Linked DNA regions of Homo sapiens: region 2 is linked to region 1. Evidence: promoter capture Hi-C in 16 types of primary human blood cells and fetal thymus (Javierre and others, 2016). All regions are on one chromosome and are shown on one strand. Each heading gives the region's core, a stretch centred on a gene start or on the middle of the fragment in contact. The rest is flanking DNA. Distances are from core to core; before and after follow the strand shown. Region 1 holds the start of ARMC2-AS1 (ARMC2 antisense RNA 1). Region 2 overlaps SESN1 (sestrin 1).

What was found. Contacts are between HindIII fragments. The CHiCAGO score rates a contact against its expected background, and 5 or more counts as called.
Region 2: a fragment that was not itself captured here is called in contact with the fragment with the promoter of ARMC2-AS1 in region 1 in 1 of 17 cell types (megakaryocytes); the score reaches 6.9 in megakaryocytes.

What each region holds. Positions count from the first base shown.
Region 1 is chr6:108,920,121-108,927,318 of GRCh38, forward strand. It overlaps ARMC2-AS1 (ARMC2 antisense RNA 1), which reads right to left and starts at 3,983. Exons shown (of 3, transcript NR_104137.1): 1 at 3,941-3,983; 2 at 2,855-2,924. All of the region lies in intron 10 of ARMC2 (armadillo repeat containing 2), which reads left to right. RefSeq lists an enhancer at 415-1,325. The HindIII fragment of the contact is 2,206 bases long and covers 3,223-5,428 here.
Region 2 is chr6:109,064,317-109,070,912 of GRCh38, forward strand. All of the region lies in intron 1 of SESN1 (sestrin 1), which reads right to left. Among named protein-coding and RNA genes, the nearest start is that of SESN1, 27 kb to the right of the region's middle. The HindIII fragment of the contact is 524 bases long and covers 1,959-2,482 here.

The DNA.
Region 1 (7,198 bases), core at 2,733-5,232:
AGCTATTTTAGGGGTTAGTCTTTGGTATTGATCACTACACTGGCTAATTTTTTATTTTGTTTTGTTTTGTTTTTGTTTTTGTTTTTAGAGATGGAGTCTTGCTCTGTCGCCCAGGCCAGAGTGCAGTGGCATGATCTCAGCTCACTGCAACCTCCACCTCCCGGGTTCAAGCAGTTCTCCTGCCTCAGCCTCCCAAGTAGATGGGATTACAGGCACGTGCCGCCACTTTTTTAATGATGTATTTGTTAATGGGAAGGAGACAGCTATTTTCTACTTATGGGGCTTCCTTCCTATAAAAGAATTGCCAGCAGCATAACTAACCACTCACGTGCCCAGTTGCCACGAGAGAGTAGGCATTTGGGGCCCAGGTTCTTCCTCTTCCCTTCTCTTCCCTTTCCTAGGAAGGAGCTGTCTATAGGCAACTCATGTTCTCCTCCAATTTTCCAGGGACAGCAGATCTGAAGATCTGAGAAGACTCAGAAACCTAAATATGTAATGCCTTGGGTTTTTTACTTGGAAATAAGAGGCTAAGGAGGCTGGGGATGGGGATAAAGTTATCACCGTGGTTGGAGGATGTGGCTGATAGCTGAGGCAGGCATGCTTTCTAATCCTGAGTCCTAGAATTAGATTTACCCACCCAGTCACAGACCATGTCTGTCCCTGGAGGAGCAGAACACCTTTGTTCTGATGGCAGCTCACTTCTAAAAGAGGAAGGGAAGAGAGGGACCAGGTAGGGGCTGGACTGGGAGGGTCTGATTCCTGTCCCAAGCTCACCAATCAGGAAGTGAGGGCGGTGGATGGCCAGGAGTGTTATGCTAAAAGACAGATCAAGGGTGGAAATGAGGCTCCTACTGTGTCTGAGGAGAGCCATTTGCTCTCAATTAGTGCTCTGTCTGCTCAGCCTCCTCTCTTCACTGTAGATCTATTAGTTGTGGCAGTAAGGAAATGTCACTAGCTTTAGCATATAATTGTGAATAGTGGTTTCATTGCTTGGTAGTTCTTAATGCACTATCTTTTTCAGACTCCTTTTTCTTGTTTTGCTGCATTGCCATTCTAGATTGTTTGTATGATATTCAAAATTTCTCCTGTATTGAATACATACATAGCCACAACTAGAAGAATCAGCTACCTACTCATTTTAGTGAAGTAACTGGCATAGAGGCAGTAAATGGAGAAACAACAATAAACAGAGCCAAATGTTAAATAGAGTCTCAAAGTAGGACATTGGAGGTTTAAGGAGGACAGAAGCATTTCCTGCTAAGTCGGACACCCATGGTAGGGATGTGCCAAGTAGGCCTGTGTAGCCAGGCACCGAGTGTTATCAAGGATTATTAATTAATATTACCTTCATATGCATATATCTTAATAAATTCCAAGAAAAGCTTAGACATGCATGTTACCAGTGATTTCACATGTCTAGCAGCATCTTGTCATTGGTTTCTTTTGTCTCAGCCAGAACTGTACAAATCATATATGAGACAATATGAAACTTCTTGGGTTACCACACAGGCTCTGGTTTTGGCATATATGTGGCCTCAATTGGGCACAAGTTCAAAGAAATGAATCTGCCTTTATTAATAGAGGGAGATGGCTTAGCTGAGGTTGGAAAATAGTGGCTTTAGTCATAAATCATTTCACACTGTTTGTGGTCTCTGGCGGCTGCGTTTATTCTTTTACATCATCAGTGGGAAGTCAACAATTTTGCAGTTGGCAGTTAAGTTGAGACAAAGCTCGAGGGATTTCAGTTGTGGATATTCCAGATGATTGCAAAATGCTTTTAGAGACCAGTGCCAAATAGAGTAGGGAGGCAATAGACCAAGAAACTGAGGCCAGGGCACTAGCCTACCTGGGAGCTGATAGACTTCTGAGCTTCAATGAGTCACAAGCTCCTCTGATCTGGGGCAGCTCTGATGGCAGGTTGCCTTCTAGAGCAGAATCTGGTGAGTTCCTTGAGGACAGAGTACTCTGATGGAGGAAGGGCACAGAGGGAAAAGAGAGGGCCGTCCACTCTGGACATGATCAGTGTGTGTGGAGGTTGCCCCACCTCGCACCCACCCACTGCAGTAGAGAACGCAGGAATGAGACCACAGCTGCTGGGCCTGTGTTGTGTCCTCAAGTCCAGTGATCCAAGTCCGGAGGGCCCCCCCACCCTTTTTTTTTTCTTGAGACAGAGTCTCACTGTGTCACTCAGGTTGGAGTGCGGTGGTGCGATCAAAGGCATGGCTCACTGCAGCCTCAGCCTCTGGGGTTCAGGCGATTCTCCTGCCTCAGCCATGAGAGTCGCTGGGATTACAGACCTGAGCCACTGGGCCCAGCCCCATATTTTAAGACAAATATTTCCTGTGTTTGCTAAGGTTTCTCAATTAATTAATAGTTGAAAACACAATTTGAAATTGATAATTAAGTACCTATAGTCAACTTGAAAAAAACAGAAGCTAAAGCTTTTGAGTTCTCATTTTACTGTATTAAAATGTAGTTGTGCATTTATAAATGATCTAATTTCTTCTTAGTACATTTTTTCCCTTTAAAATGGGTCTCCCAATACTGACTACACAATGAAAACTTTGAGGCTTACATAATTCAATGTGAGCTGGGTAGCTTTGCCAAGTCTCCAGGTGTTTTCCCTGACTGAGGGTGGTACCTGTTATGATCAAATAATTTGGGGAACATGGAAAGAAGCTTTCTCAGAAAAGTGAGCACCAGAAAGTTGTCAAGTGTAGCTCAGTCATTTTTCAGTAGTAGATTGGTAACCAGAAGCAAAATGGAATGTTTCTTCCTGGGTATTTACCAAAACCTTAGGTCCCCTTTTGTCCTAAACATCACCTAACAATTGCTAATAAGCAAGGAAACTTACATTTGTATTAGTCCTCTTTGTGGATTATCAGTGTCATTTTCTTCTCTTTTTTCTTCTTCCTATGGGCTGCCTTCAGGATTGCAAGTCCCACAGGATTGCAAGTTAAGAGATGGGGGAAAAGATAGGAATTAAAACTTGTGTTTTTCAGTGTGCTATTTCTTGGTGAAATGCTACTTAAGAGGTTGAGAATTTCTCTACTAAGTCCTTTAGAGACTAAACAAGACTTTTTTTAAGTAAGGGATTTGAGGTGGTTTGAAAGATTATATACAATAAAAAAGAAAAATGTGTGTTTAAGTTTGTGCATTTATAGATAATATAAATTAGAATAGAAAGTTAAGAAAGAAATGGATGCACACCTCCAAGCATGAAGCTTGGGCTTTGGTTAACTCCTGCTTTGGGGGAGGGCCCAGTGGGTGGGCTTTTCTTGAGGGTGGGAAATAAAGACCCTGCTGTAGAGCACAGAACTCATTGATAATTTTCACAGATTTATCTCTGTTCAACTGAGAGTTCTTGTTTTCTTTTTTTTAATTTTCACTTGTATATAATGAATTCAAAAGTAGGAGCAAAATTCAGTTAAATGGGTTGACTTGGAACTTGCCTTTACTGTGACCACATGATTTAGCTAGACTCTCCTCCCCACACCCTTTTTTTTTTTTTTTTCCTGCATTTTTTCCAGAAAAGGCCACTGGTCTGAGCATTCAGGGCCCCACCATCATCCCACAGTGAGATTGGTGGCTCTCAGAGGTTGGTGACAAGTCTCTCAAGATACAGGGCCTTCAGAGCTGCATCTGCGTGGTGGCCTTTTCCTGATCCTTCTCCCTCAGGGTTTTAGGCCCTGGTTCACCCAGGCCTCTGCTAAGCTCCCGCACTTTCTTGCCAGAGGTGTCTTAAAGGGAAAAACCTCTCTTTTGTCGCTCCTGTCCCTTCTTTCTTTCTTCCCCCTCCTCATTCCCCTCCTCCTTCCCCTTCTCATTCACTCTTCCAGCCCTCCAGTAGCTGAACATTTAAGAGCTTTTTATGAGCACATTTGTTGTCCTCTGAATAGAAAGAGGAATAAGAAGTGGTTTGTACCCTAGAGGAGCTCACCATGGGAGAGAAGATGCCTGAAGACAAGTGACAATGCTTCTGTGATGGGGGTTGTAGAGGCAGGAACAGGATGCTTTGGTAACACGGAAGAGGAAGGAGAGGAAGTGACTGATCAGCCTCGGAAAGGACTTCACAGAGAAGTTATCTTGAGCTGGGTTTTGAAAAATGAGCAGGAGGCCGGGCGCGGTGGATCATGTCTGTGATCCCAGCACTTTGGGAGGCCGAGGCGGGCGGATCACTTGAGGTCAGGAGTTCAAGACCAGCCTGGCCAACATGGCAAAACCCTGTCTCTACTAAAAATACAAAAATTAGCAGGGTGTGGTGGTGCTTGCCTGTAATCCCAGCTACTCGGGAGGCTGAGGCAGGAGAATCGCTTGAACCCAGGAGGCGGAGGTTGCAGTGAGCCGAGATCGAGACTCTGTCTCGAAAAAGAAAAAAGAAAAAAATGAGCAGGAGATGGCCCGGGGGAGAAGGGGTGGCAAAGTGTAATCGAGGGCACTCTGGGCGGAGGAAGCCGCCTATTCAAAGGCATGGCGTCATGAAGGGTTGAGGACCTCATGTGGTGCAGAGTCTGAAAGATGGCCAGGGTGGTGCCGAGGCAAAGGAGATGAGTTTGGAGGGATAAACCACACTTCAGAGACTGAGGAACCTTTAGGCTATGGGTGCTACTGGCTGGGCCGGAAGTCGCAGGAGGCCTTTGAGCAGGGAAGGCGGAGCTTTGAGATGCCCCCTCTGGCAGCAGTGAGCAGCTATGGGGGCAAACTGTGGAAGGAGCCCATCCAGGGGGCTGTAGAGTTTGGGTAAGAGATGAAGTGAGCTTAAACTGAACCAGTGACGCTGGTGATGGAGAGAAGGGGTGAACGTGTGACCAGTCAGGTGGGGAAAGGGGTGGGGCCCGGGAGTTTAGGAGCTTGGGAAGGAGCTGCTGTCAGAAATGAGATAGGCTAGAGAACAAATACACAGAGGCTGGTCCCCTTCCAGAGAGTTCATTTTTCTTTCATCCGTTATTTTTTATTCTGTGATGGATGGGGGTTATAGAGGCAGGAACAGGATGCTTTGTTAACACGGAAGAGGAAGCGACTGATCGGCCTCTGAAAGGTCTTAAACATAGACAAGTTAGCCTGAGCTGGGTAACTACAGAGTCCATTTTTCTTTCATCCATTATTTTTTACTCCTCTGCTTTCAAAAAAAATCTTAAAATCTGTCTACCTCAGAGATATTGTCTGCTTAGCCCATGGTGTTCTGATATCCCAGTCTTTCCTTTGTAGATGTCCACCCCTTCATTCATTCCATTAATAAATGCCTATTGAGCGCCCACCATGTACCAGGCACTGGACTTGGAGCTGGATGTACAATGGTGAAAAGGATGAACAAGGTTTATGCCTTCACTGAAGCGTCTAGTCTGGAGGAGTAGACAGATAGTAAACCATAATATTAAATAACCTAGCATTAAGTAGAGTTTATGGGGGCATATATGGTATGAGATGAAGCTTGACGGGTTGAGAAGGAACAGATCTGTTGAGCCTTGTAGACCATGGTCAGGGAACTGAATATTATCCTGGGAGCTATGGACAAAAAGCCAATATGGCTTGGAGTAACAGAAAGCAGAAAGGCAGGATTCTGGGATATCTCTGCTTGAGCAACTAGGTTGATGGTGTCATCTATTGAGCTATTGCTGTGTATTTTTCAAATGTATGGTATATGTTTCATGCATGTTATTTCTACCAGCACCACAAATGACAAATTTGGAAATACGTGAGGTATTGTATATTACTCAACTGTGTGTATCACGTGCAGTAAATGGGTAGGAATTTCAATCAAATGACATGTCACATATAAATGTGGGCTTTCTCTCCTGACTTGGGTTATTTATGAAAGTTATGTATGTGGGGCAGAAGAAACTTGAGCTGTCTAAACTTTTGCTAATGAGGTGAGAATAAGGCCTGAGAAGGAGAAAAAATTGAGATTGAAACAAGAAAATAAAAGCTCCTAAGGAAACTATGGTCCTTTCTGCTGGCAATGTCCCTTGCCAGAGCTTAGATGTGGGGAGCGTGAAGATGACTATGGATTGGGATGTCCCATCTTTGATGCCTTGGGGACCAGGGAAAAGGAACTGTTGGTGTGCAGTGACTGGAATGGGTATTTCATGGTTTCCCATGATGTCTGTCTGCATGGGAGTTACACAGGCATCTGTACTCTTCCGTCTCCATGGAAGAGAGTTTTGAGGCATCCTCTGAATTAATGTAAACCAGTAGTGCTCCGGTGCCTGGGCTGTCTCAGGAGAACAGGTGGAAACGGGGTCAGATGATGAGAATTTTCCATTTTATGACAGCAATGGAATTCCTAGAATGGTTCATTAGTCTTCACAAAAGATCTATTCCTGGCTGGGCGCAGTGGCTCACCCCTGTAATCCCAGCGCTTTGGGAGGCTGAGGTGCTTGGATCACTTGAGGCCAGGAGTTTGAGACCAGCCTGGCCAACATGGCGAAACCTTGTCTTTACTAAAAATACAAAAATTAGCCAGACATGGTGGCACGCACCTGTAATTCCAGCTACTTGGGAGGCTGAGGCACGACAATTGCTTGAATGGGGGAGGCAGAGGTTGCAGTGAGCTGAGATCCTGTCACTGAACTCCAGCCTGGATGACAAAGAGAGACTCTGTCTCCAAAAAAAAAAAGTCCATTCCTTAGCTTAGAAGAAGACTACATTGTGACATTGTTTAGATCTATGGAGTTAAGTGGAATACTCAAGTAGTTTGTTTCACTTCCAATGTTTGGGATACTGAAACTTTCAGGGAAGAATTTACAGAATCATTGTATAATTGAATTGATTACAAAAGACATGTACACATTTATTTGAAGCTTTTTTTTTTTTTTTTACATTTTCTGTGTTTTCAGGGTAGTCAGTTATATTTTAATGTATCTTTTTGTTGCTGTTGTTATAAGGAAAAACTAATCATGTCATCTTAAAAATTGTTTTTAAAAGTTTATATACTATGGCTGTAAGGATGCTTTATGTTTACATGATGCTTTACAGTATTAGATAAGTAATAAAAACAGTGCTACATGTTTCCATTTGCTACACACAACCCCCCGAGAGGTGAGCAGTGCTTGTCATCTGCTTTTCACAGATGAGGAAATGGGGAAGTGGAGGAAGGAGTGGCTGCCCCTGGGCACTTCACTAGGAAGAGATGATGGCAGCGATGCCATTCACACATCTTATCTCATAGAATCCTCACAACTGCTAGGGAAGTATCATC
Region 2 (6,596 bases), core at 971-3,470, 140 kb after region 1:
AAATCTAAAGGTGACCTAGTCCACATATCAGGCTATAATGGAAAATAGTGTATTTAGCTCCAAAGCATCATGGATTCAGCTACCTAGACAATACTCTGCCCAATGATGTACTAATTAACACCAAAATAGAAAATGATTTAGGACAGTATGTGCTTTAGAACAAAAGGAAGATCTGAAAGCCACAGTTCATCATCAATCACCAAATCAAAACATGGGACATAAAAAATATCAAATGAAAGAAGAGAAGAGAGGAGGGGAGAGGAGAGGAGAGGAGAGGGGAGGGGAGGGGAGGGGAGGGGAGGGGAGGGGAGGGGAGGGGAGAGGAGAGGTGGGGTGGGGGAGAGGGAAAGGGAAAGACCGAGAGTGGGTGGGAGAGAGAGAGAGGGAGAGAGATGAAGGAAGGAAGGGAGGGAGGGAGGGAGGGATAGCAAGCATAGAGTATATGAAGTATAAACAAGTCTATATCGCTGAGAGTACACTTTCAGGTTGGCAAAATCTGTGTGGTGATAAACTAGTAACAATTTAGCAATCTCTACATATGTAACAGAGGCAAAACAGCAACAACAGCAACAATAACCAGTCCTCTGTTTTACTTTCTACACCCTCTAGTTGCCTAAATGTCTTCATATTACATACTGTGACAATTTAAAAAAGTTATCAAGAATAGTACTGTGTCCTCTTGTTTTCCTCATCAAGTATGTAACATAGGTTACCTGTCACATAAGAAACTGTGCTATTTGAGTTGCAAAATTTTGCACTTATTTCCAATCCCTCTCTCCTTAAGTTCCCGAATTTAATAGCCCATTAACTCTTTTCAGTTCTCTATTCCTATTATTTCCCATTTTCACATCTATTATCATAACCTTTATAAGCATATATTTTCCTTAACTTTAGGCATGTCTGAGAATCATTATCACTATCAGTGTTCTTATAGGTTTATAAAAAAAATTATTTTCCCCTAATACTATTATTATGATGCTTCTCAGATTTATAAGAATAACTATTGTTATTTAGTTTCTTCTTTTCCTGTTTTCATTTACTCATTCAATTTTCAGAGATTTGTTTCTTTTTATTTTTCCAATATTAAAAGAAGTAACAATTCACTGTGATTGAAATAACTAAAATATAAATTCACTTGGTTTTAAAAATCACCTGATTGTCCCTCTCACACATTCCTTTCTATTTGATCATGAAGACATAGGGAGAAAACTCTGAAGCAGAGTCCTTTTTCTTTCTTAAATAGCCTCAAATGTGTAACAATATGACTAGAGGATGAAAAAACAAAGAAAAGCAAGATATTGGGCCATTGTAATAAGGACGAGGTTGCAGGCCAAAAAATAAGATAAATGTGTGTTCAGGTGTAGAAAAGACCCTGGATCACACATTTCTCTTTCTGACATATGTGATTGTAATATTCTTGGTGTCTTAAAATACTGACCCCTTATTAAAATACAAAAAAATTATTTTCTTTAAAATATTAAATTACTTTAATATTACTTTAAAATATTGAAATTATTACTATACCTTTTCTCTATTATAATAGAAGATACTATCTATAATTAGAATCTAAAACCAATACATTGAAGGTATTTTACAAAGTTAGAACTCCTTTTCGTCTAATGTAAGATAAGAGCCTAAACTAAGAATAAGATCATCCCTTAAATCTTAAAAGAGGCAAGTTTAAGAGGGATAAAAGAATCACTACTATCCATACTCAGTGAAAGGTAAAATTATTAAACGAATACAATAGTTCCTGGTTCTACATTCAAATTAATTATTTCCAACTAATACATATATTGACAGGTAATAAAAAGCCTTTGTTAGATCCTGTATCTTGATTTTTGGCTTAATAACATGTCTGTAAACTAAAACAAAAATACACAAATTTGTGATTTCTACCAAACTCTTTCCCTAGAGCCTTTGCTGTAGCTTCCTCACAGGGGAAGAAGCAAAACATAAGCTTGCTTATTTTTAAATCACGAAGGTTTGCTGTTTCTTTTTTTTTTTTTTTAAAGTCACTATGATTTGTTGTAATTTTTACTGGAGCAGTAGGGGAAGAGGGTTATTATTTCTCTTTGTCTCCCTGCAGTGAATTAGGGTAAGGAAGGAATGTGGATCCCTCTGGGATAAAATGAAAAAGAAAGTAGGTGGGAATTATATGTGGGTCTACTCTATTTCCCTTAAGAAATATCGACCAATTCAAGTAACCAAGATCCAGACATGTATCATAGCACTGAGATCATGTGATGGCATTTAAATTTTAATAAAAATAAGATGAAACTAAACAAGTCAACAATAGTCTTCTGTTTTCAAGTATGTGTGATACGAAGTAGAAAAAAGAGGCTCATGAAGATAACTCAAATGGTGGACACAGCCATACCACTTGAATAACCAACAGATATAAATGGATATTATTTTTAAAAGAGAAGAAATAATGACCATCCCAAAAAGAAACATGCTGCAATAGTGAAAGACAGTGCTAAGCTTAAAAGTTCGAGAGAGACTATGTAGAGAAAAATGGATTTGCCTGGGTCAAGTGTCAATGAAGACTTACAGTACAGCAAACGTTGAAGTAACAGATGCCAGAATACAATAGAAACTCTCAGATCTGGAGGAAAAAGGCAAAAAGCCACCATCATCTTATTATCTCCTTGGCCCTGGTTCTTCTGGTGCAATATTCGCAAAATCAATTATGTTTCCTCAGACAGGCCTACTTTGAAAATGTATGCTTTTCACCTTTCATTCTAATACAATTTAATCTGGTTGCTTTTCTGAAGAGGAAAAGAGTATATAACTTCAAGAGCCTATAGTCTGGATGTCCCACCATCCTCCAGCCCTCACTGTTCAACAAAACAGCTTGAACCCCAATGCCTCCTCACTCACAACTTCCCCTCCCTATCTGTAGGTCTCCAGTCTATCTGGGCACAAAGGGATTGTATCACTGTCACTGCAGGTCCTCCACACCATGACCAACTTCCCTGAGCTCCCATAACACCCTCCTGCACAGTGCCCACCCTGCTGTCACTCCACAGATCATCATTAATGTGTAGTCATCAAGGGTAGAAGTCTTTTATGGACATTTTGGAGGTAAAAGATAGTAAAAATAGGAGAGAAAATTCCCTAAAACTGAACGCTAAGTAAGATAACTGTCCTCCAAATTCAAAGAAAACAAAAAAGGAATGTAAGCTTTTCAAAGGGATCCATTTCATCGGCAGAGCCTCATTCCTATGGCTATAGCTTTGTGTTATTACCTCTCCCTCTCTCCGGTCTTTCCTCTTCCATCTCTTAGTTTTGAGTACTCAAATCCTATACACACTTCCTCAGGACTCTCAACTGCACTCACCTTGACTATTCACAAGAGCAATTTATTTTTGCTGCTGCCTTATCCTACCAGATCAGCCCCAAGTACTATTCTTTTCACAGTCTCAATCCACTCATCAAAATGTCTTCCTAAATAGCATGAAACAGACACAATACAGGTATGCTGGATATGTTCTATTTGCCCCTGCAAAGTATGTATCTGCCCTACTCTACCCTGTTTTGTGCTTCAAAATGCTCACCACTATGGACTGTATCATTACGGTACTCTTACTGTTTGGTTTATGATAGAGAGGCACTAACAAATTGGAGGACAGGGAGAAGAAGGTCAGGGTATTTATTCTGAAGGCAGAAGTGGGTATATTCCTCTATTGAAGGCCACAGTTCCTGTTAGGCAGGCAGGCTTCTCTTATAGCTGCAGACCTCACTGAGTTCCAGTAACTACACTCAACCTTTGCCCCTGAAGTTTGGGGGGGACAGTGACTTCCAGATGTCACTAGTTCAAAATGCCCATCATCCCTTCTTGGTTTCTCTTAACCCTGCATACACCTTTGTAGACAGTCCTTTTTCTCTTTAGTCACCCCAGCTGAGTGTGCCATCCATTTTCTGCTAGGATCCTGGCTGATTCAGCAGGGAGAAAAAGAAACTAATTAAAAATTTAATTGATATCATCAGAGAATAAAATACTCATAATATAAGAACTGGCTGCTCAGAGAAAGTAACAATCTGAGAATACAAAAGAGTTATTGAAAGTTAAAAACATGGCTGCTAAATAAACATGTCAATAGAAGAACTGAATAATAGAACTGGGCTGAAGGGCAAATTTGTAATTTGGAAGATAAGTTCAGGGAACTCTCCAAGATATAAAGTAAAAAGACAAAAAAGAAACGGTATATGAAAAAAGGTTAAGATGAAGGTCTAACACTTAACTATTGGTCAAAAAAGGACAGACATAAGAGATATAATAGAGGAGAAGTAACAAAAGAGAGGATAGAAGAGTAATTTGAGATTCAATCTTTATATTGAAAAGACCCAAGCATAGTGGGGAGAAACATATTCTGACATACACCAGTGAAATTTCCTGGGCTTTTTTTTTTTTTTTTGAGGCAGAGCTTCACTCTTATTGCCCAGGCTGAAGTGCAGTGGTACGATCCTGGCTCACTGCAACCTCCGTCTCCTGGGTTCAAGCAATTCTCCTGCCTCTGCCTCCCAAGTAGCTGGGATTACAGGCACCTACCACCATGCCTAGCTAATTTTTTGTATTTTTAGTAGAGATGGGGTTTCATCATGTTGGCCAGGCTGGTCTGGAACTCCTGACCTCAGGTGATCCACCTGCCTCGGCCTCCCAAAGTGCTGGGATTACAGGTGTGAGCCACCGCGCCCAGCCGAAATTTCAAACTCTAAAGATAAATGAAAGCATCTTAAGTTCCCAGAATGTCCTTCTTCTTAGGAAAAACATGATAAAGTATTTTGGGGTGAAGTGTTTGTAACTTTCAAGAGGTTGAGCAAAAGGAGAGAAAAAAACAGAGAAGGCCATCGTGGCAAAATGTTAACAATACGTGACTCTAGGTGAAGGGTATATGGCATTTTCCATACTATTTTTTGAACTATTTGATAGGTTTAAAAAAAAAGTTGCGGAAAAAAGAAAAACAAGCCTCCTAGAGAGGGGTAAAATAAAACAAACAAACAAAAAAAAACACCAAGTTCCATGCTAAAAGAATAAGAATGAGACTGGCATAAGACTTCTCATTATAAACACCAGATGCTAGAAAATAATGGAATAATGCCTTCACAGTTATGAGAGAAAATGATTTTAACCTAATATTCAAATCAACTGTAACAAAATCTGAGGTAAAAGTAAAAACATCTTCAAATATTCATGGGCCAGAAAACTTAATTCCCACAAACTTTAATTTTTTTTTTTTAAGACTGGGTCTTGCTCTGCCACCCAGACTGGAGGGCAGTGATACAATCATAGCTCACTGTTACCTGGGACTCCTGGGTTCAAGTGATCCTCCCACCTCAGCATCCCAAGTAGCCAGGACCACAGCCGTGTACCACGACACATAGCTAATTTTTACTTTTTATTTTTTTGTTGAGATGGTGGGAGGGGGGGTCTCACTATGTTTCCCAGGCTGGTCTCAAACTCCTGGCCTCAAGAAATCCTCCTGCCTCAGCCTTCTAAAGTGCTGGGATTATAGTTGTGAGCCACTGCACCCAGCCTCCACAAACTCTTAAGAAAATTAATACTGAGCTTATGAAACTTAAAAAACATAGCAATGAATTACTTAAAAAATGTGATGAAACCACATCTTATTATCACGCTAATCCAAGCATTACATCACCTACTGCTGAAACAATGCAACAGCCCTTTAACTGGTCTTCATGCCTCCTTTGTTGTACCTATCCATGCCCCACACAAGAACCATCATTTTATTTTAATGTTCCATTTTATTTTTTTAAATGTAGGTAACAGATTCACATTGAACAAAATACTTTCACGTGATTTGAATGTAGGAAGTGCAAAAGAGCATTAAGTCTCTGAGACCCAGAGAGTGGGGCCCCTACACTTTAGAGGGCCTGCTGTGGACCTCCTCCAGCTGCACCCCTCTGAGAGATGAAGTCCACAGGACTAGGGCATGTGCCCACCCAGATTATGCTTCAGGTACTTGGAACCGTAGGAATCTCTACTCAAATGGGCTGAGCCAGCTCTCTGGGCCTACACATGGGTTGTCCTCCCTATGGCTGAACACAAGGCCCATGTACGCAACCTTAGGCTCAGAAAGTGGACAGGCAGCAGCTGTATGTGGGGTGTGCAGCAGCTGATGTGAGGGCAGGGTGTCTATCCTTCATAGTGTAGGGGTGGGTGGGATTGGGGTGGGAGAACAGCATAGACAGGCCACCGCCAGGGCCCACCAGTTGAAATGGGCTTATGAAAACGTATACAGTGAAAAGCCTTGGACTCATTCCTGTCCCCAGCCAATGGCTACTTTTTCCAAAGACAACTACTGTTTCTAATACAAGTTAATCACTTTAAATCAAAAATCTGAAAATGTAATCTCCAACCTAAAGGATTTTAGTGGTTCTCTATTACTGTTAAGATAAAATCCAAAATTCTTAAAGTGGTCAACATAGCATTTTTCAAACTATAACATTCATTAGAACCATTTGGGGATTCAAGTCTGATCCAGTAGAACTGGGGTGAGGCTTGAGATTCTGCATTTCCAATATCTTCCCTAAGTGATACTGATGCTGCTGACCCATAGGCTACACCTTGA